Regions from separate parts of the Homo sapiens genome. Here region 1 is linked to region 2. The links are contacts of gene promoters, found by promoter capture Hi-C in blood cells and fetal thymus (Javierre and others, 2016). All regions are on one chromosome and are shown on one strand. The core of a region is centred on a gene start or on the middle of the fragment in contact, and the rest is flanking DNA. Distances in the headings are between cores, read along the strand shown. Region 1 holds the start of DOLK (dolichol kinase). Region 2 overlaps ZER1 (zyg-11 related cell cycle regulator).

The links. The method cuts DNA at HindIII sites, captures the fragments that hold promoters and counts their contacts. A CHiCAGO score of 5 or more calls a contact.
Region 1: a contact is called between the fragment with the promoter of DOLK here and a fragment that was not itself captured in region 2, in 1 of 17 cell types (erythroblasts). The highest score is 5.3, in erythroblasts.

What each region holds. Positions count from the first base shown.
Region 1 is chr9:128,946,274-128,948,973 of GRCh38, forward strand. It overlaps DOLK (dolichol kinase), which reads right to left and starts at 1,330. Exons shown (of 1, transcript NM_014908.4): 1 at 1-1,330. The coding sequence starts at 1,030. NUP188 (nucleoporin 188) reads left to right here and starts at 1,426. Exons shown (of 44, transcript NM_015354.3): 1 at 1,426-1,478. The coding sequence starts at 1,447. RefSeq lists enhancers at 90-652, 653-1,214, 1,076-1,145, 1,215-1,776, 1,496-1,545. The HindIII fragment of the contact is 6,982 bases long and covers 1-2,700 here.
Region 2 is chr9:128,729,974-128,732,673 of GRCh38, forward strand. ZER1 (zyg-11 related cell cycle regulator) reads right to left here. Exons shown (of 16, transcript NM_006336.4): 16 at 1-1,421. The coding sequence ends at 1,364. The region is part of intron 1 of ZDHHC12-DT (ZDHHC12 divergent transcript); the gene reads left to right. Among named protein-coding and RNA genes, the nearest start is that of ZDHHC12-DT, 6.9 kb to the left of the region's middle. RefSeq lists enhancers at 1-426, 2,220-2,700. The HindIII fragment of the contact is 3,790 bases long and covers 1-2,700 here.

The DNA.
Region 1 (2,700 bases), core at 80-2,579, 220 kb after region 2:
CAATGAGGTGGAAATACTTTCGGGCGATGGTGGGGGCCTGGTGCTTCTTGGACTCGGAAGATGACCGCTTGGCATTCTGGTACAGCACCACCAGGCAGGCCAAGGTGGCCAGCAGAGACCAATAGGCTAGGAGGTAGATGCGGGTGTCTGTCTGGAAGAGAAACTGAAGAAGCCAGAGCAGGGGATTCCTGCGGATGAGCCGGTGCAGCCAGGGTAGGACCACACCAAGGCTCAGCACACAGGTCATGAGGTGGAAGAAGATGGAGGAGGCCCAGGTGCCTGAGTCCATGAAGACAAACAGAGTGCTGAAGAAAATGCCCATGAGTACCATCCCTACTACCACCACCAGCAGGAAGAAGTCCACTGGGTCCCCCTGACTTTCCACCAGTGTCAGAGAGCGCTTGATGAGCTGGTTGAGGACAAAGCTAATGCCACCCAATACCAGCAGTGCCTCACCAGGGGTGAAGCAGCGGGGCAGCAGGTACAGCAGGATCATGTTGAGATAAACGAAGATCAGAAGGACTTCCAGGACTTCGATCACCTCCCCCACGCTCAACGAGTGCTTCATGATATAAATGATAACACCTCCAGCCAAGCCCAAGATGACACAAGTGTTGGTTGGCACTGGGCGAGTGATGCCGAGCGCCAACACTGATGAGAAGAGGGCCACTGCCATGCCAGTGGCTGCCACCACAATGCCAAAACGCTCAAAGAACGGGTTCCCAGCAGTCTGGCACCGCTCCTTCATGACTAGTCCAAGCAAAGGCATGACCATGGAGGCGGGCAATAGGCCACTGTTTGCGGACATTCGGAACTGGAAGACGGCGCTTCCCTGCTGTAGCAGCCGGTCCCACTTGTATTGGACGTAGAAGGCCTGCACTGCGAGGGCCACGGCGCACCACGAGTATCGGTCCCATACGGTTGCGTGGATGCTCAGCACCACTGCAAACACTACTGCCGCCTCTGCCAGCACCGATCCACTCAGCGGAGCCCCAGGCCCCGGGGCCGGAGATGGGCACTCTCGGGTCATATCTCTAGACCTGGGGCTTCACGGAGGCCGGGGCGACTACGGACGCCCTAGACTTCGGGCCCCTCAGCCCCGTCAAGCAGAGGGAGGCACTTTCACCCGGCCAGCAACCTTCTCCCTCCGTTCTCCAGCAGCGAGGAGGGAACTCCACCGCAGGTCACTTCTGCGGCCTGGGAGCTGGCGCCCGGCCACCCCCCACAGCCTCCAACCTACGGCGTAGACGTCGCCACTCTGCAGCCTTCCTCACAGTTACAGCCGCCCCCGCTGCCGGCTCCTCACCTCTTTGGGCCTCGCCATCTTGGCACCGCCCCGCGGCAACGTCACGTGACGAAATCCCCGCCCACGCTCCGGGTCCGGGGGCGAGCGGTCACGTGGGCATGGCGTCTGGGGGCGGGGTTAGGGCGAGCGGGCGCGCGAAGATGGCGGCGGCCGCCGGCGGGCCGTGTGTGAGGTGCGGAGCGGGTCGAATGGACCGGGGTGGCTGTGAAGCGCGGTGTCAAAGCCGAGCGGAAGCGGGGCGGGAATTGGAGGCGGGATGTGGCGACAGTGGCAGGGCCAACCCCGGCTGGATGGACGGGCACCGAGACGGGAGGCGGTTACGTCCAAACGGTCCCCGCGCGCGGGGATCTGAAGAGTCTTCTTCAGGAGGGGGGCCGGCTCTTCACCCCTTCCCTCCGCGCTCGGCCTCCCATCTCCTCACCCAGGGCCCTTTGCCTTCCTCCTCTCTCACCTCCGACGCGTCTCTTGGCGCCCCACCCGCGCTTCCTTCTCCGGCCGTGACGCTCCCTCGAGCCACGGGGAGCTTTGCGGTCTCCTGGGGTACCCCCCACCCACGTCCCTGCTGCAGGCTCCCAGTGTCCTGCCCCGGCGTCGAGTGCGCCCTGCTGGCTCCCCGACCTCTCCCGCGATCTGTTCTTGTTAGGATTTTGTTTCGCGTTGAGCGGAGCCACGCTTGCGGCTTCTGTCCTCTCCGCGCCTCGTATCGTTCTTTTCTTGCACTGAATCAAGTCAGCCAGCATGTCCAAATCCTCCAAGAGATTTCAGGGATTGAACTAGGCTTTAGGGACAAGAAGATGAAATATTATATACGAAAACTACAATTCTGACAAAGTGCTTTCTAGCGTCAGACCCTGGTGGAGCGCTTCCCAGGAGTTATCTCATTCAATTCTCGCAACTCCGAGAGGCGCCTTCTATTTCACAGATGACTCAGAAGTCCGGCTCAGAGCTAGCCAAGTGATAAAGAGAGCCTTCAAGCTGAAGTCTGCGTACCTCCAGTGCTATAACCAGACCACCACGCCTCCTTCTGTCTTCCACATTGCAGCTCGAAGGTCTTCGTTCTTCCCACCACCCTCCCTCAAAGTTAAACATCCCCGTCTCTTATCCTTCCCTGTGCCAGCAGTGTTTTCCCCACTTTTTTTTTTTTTTTTTTTTTTTTTTTTTTTTGAGACGGAGTCTCGCTCTGTCGCCCAGGCTGGAGTGCAATGGCACGATCTCGGCTCACTGCAAGCTCTGTCTCCCGGGTTCATGCCATTCTCCTGCCTCAGCCTCCCAAGTAGCTGGGGATACAGGCACCCGCCACAACGCCTGGCTAATTTTTTGTATTTTCAGTAGAGACAGGGTTTCACTGTGTTAGCCAGGATGGTCTCGATCTTCTGACCTCATGATCCGCCCGC
Region 2 (2,700 bases), core at 67-2,566:
TTCCCAGGGCCGGGAGGGAGAGGCTCCAGGAGAAAAAGGCCAGGTGTCTCTCCCAAAGCTGCTCACCCCTGCCGTCCTGCCTGGAGGCAGAAATGCTAGGAACACCTGAAAACAGGCCCGCGGGAGGAAAAGGGAAGAAAAAGCCATCACCCAAAGGCTGCCTCCAGGGTTAGCGCTGCTCCCCAGGCCCCTGCGCTCCACAAGTGTCCGATGAGAAGCAATGCAGTGTCCATCGATGGAGGAGCAAGAGAGCCGGCGCCTCTCAGGCTTCCAAGGTAAAGCCTAGGGCAGGGCGGGACCGCCAGGGAGGCCCAAGCGGCCACTGCAGGGCAGTCCGAGTGCTGGTCTGGAGGCGGCTGTGTGGCCGTTGTGGGTCAAAGGCTGTCATGGGACCTCTGCCTCTGAGAGGCGTGGGGTCCTCTGGGCAGCGGGGCAGGCTGGGAGGAGGAGGCAGGCTCAGTTCTGCTGGTGGGAGCGCCTGGGCAGTTGAGGGCTATGGAGCGAGGAAGCAAGCCCCTGGCCCCAGAAGATGCTAGCTTCCAGGGCTGAGGGCAGGTTCTGGATGTGTTTGGCAGAAGGGGCAGTGGAATCTGCCCCTGAGTTCTGACCATCCCTGGGCTGGGGCTTTCCACAGCCTGGGACCTGGTGGGAGACTAGGAGGCAGCCTCCATAGCAGCGTGGCCTCAGGCAGGCCTGGCTGGACAGCAGCAGGGCCACTGGGTGCCCTGCTCCTAGAGGGTCTTCAGGGGCAGGGCTGCCTGGACCTCAGCCTAGGAATGGCTCACTTTCCTGCCCCAGATGGCCCACAGCCGGGAGCACCAAGGCTTTTGGGAGACCCAGTGGGGTAAGTTCTAATCCCCAAACCCCATCAGCTGTGCCCGGGAGCCGAGATGGCGTTCTCAGGCAGGGGCAGTGGGTCAGGATGCTCGATACGCTGTCCAAGGCCTGCTCCTCTCATGAAAGGAAGCCAGGCCGGGATCTGAGTTTCCTGGACAAGGACTGGACACTCACAGCGTTATAGGCATTTAGTCTGGTTGGGGTAGGAGTGTGTGTGTCAGCGATGAAGGCTGAGTGGGTTTGAGAATGGCCAAGGAAGCTGCAAGGACTCAGGAGTGTTGCTTTTGTTTTTGCACAGAAATCATACACACAAAACTTCACACTTCCTAACCAAAAAAAAAATATATATATATAATATATATATATCTCACTAACATTAAGGAAAAGCGTCGGTTGTGCAAAAGTCCCCCATGTCTCTTCACTCCGTGGGAGGCTCCCTCGGAAGGGGCCCGCCCGCTGGGCTGCTTGAGCATGCTTCCTCCCCGCCTGTGGTCCAGAGCGGTGGCGGCCATGGGGACGGAGGCCTCTATCTAGACGTGTCCATGTTCTCCTCTTTAAAGTTACTGCAGTGCTCAATCACCTTGCTGGAGACAATGGGGGAGACAGGATTGGAGGGTGGGCTTGGGTGGGGGTGAGCCCAGCCCCTCCGAGATCATTAGGCAGCTGGGTAAACACGTGTTCATAGTGATGGTGATGCTGACCGAATGATGTGGACAGAGGGGCTGGCAGAGTGGCTGGCATGTGCAGGGGACTCAGGGAATGGCACCTGTGGCCGTGAATGCCATCACCAGCCATCCTCCGCTTCCTTCCTTTCCATGCCCCTCTTCTCCCACCCCCAGTCCCAGGGCATCTGTGGATAGGGGGTCCCCAAATCAGCTCAGGCCCGACCTCCAAAACCCTTTGGAAGTTTCTTTAGCGACCTCTTCTTCATTTTCCCTGCACACTAGACCCTTCTCTTTCCAGAAGTCCACCAGTGGTCCCCAAACTGACTGCACATCAGATTCCCCTAGAGGCCCGGATCCAGTGGCAGGTCCAGGGTCGGGCAGGGGCAGCTGTGCTCGCACAAGGGCCCCCACTACCCTGTGGCAGCCAGGGCTCAGCACTCCAGCTCAGATTTCGAGTCTCGCCCGCCCCAGCCTGACCCCTGCCACCCATCACTGTTGGTTGTCACCTTGGACCCCGGACAGCTTGCCCATTCAACACCAAGCCTGTGGTTTGGGGGCTTCACTGCAGCCTCTGTGTGTTAAAGGGATGCCCCAATACCTTTTAGGAAACAAATACCCAGAGTGGGAGAGAGGTCAGTGGACAGGCCGAGGGCCTTCTCCTAAGCATTGTCCAGGGTCATTTACTCCTTGCTGTCAGACAGGCCAGTGCCTCAGATTCCCATCACAGGCCTTGGAGAAATGTTCAAAGTGACTGTGGTAGGTAACTGGTCAGTCTTACCCAGTGCTTCTCAAATTTCCCGGGAATCCTTGTTAACCATGAAAATTCCAGGGCCACCTCCCACCTCCCGGATGTACTGGAAAAGAAAACCTAGGGGTGGGCCCCGTCCATTTATTTTTAAATTTTATTTTTTTGAGACAGAGTCTCGCTCTGTTGACCAGGCTGGAGTGCAGTGGCACCATCTCGGCTCACTGCAACCTCTGCCTCCTGGATTCAAGTGATTCTCCTGCCTCAGCCTCCCAAGTGGCTGGGATTACAGGCACGTACCACCACGCCGAGCTAATTTTTGTATTTTTAGTAGAGACGGGGTTTTACCATGTTAGCCAGGTCTCGAACTCCTGACCTCAAGTGATGCACCCACCTCAGCCTCCCAAAGTGCTAGGATTACAGGTGTGAGCCACTTCGCCTGGCCAGTAGCGC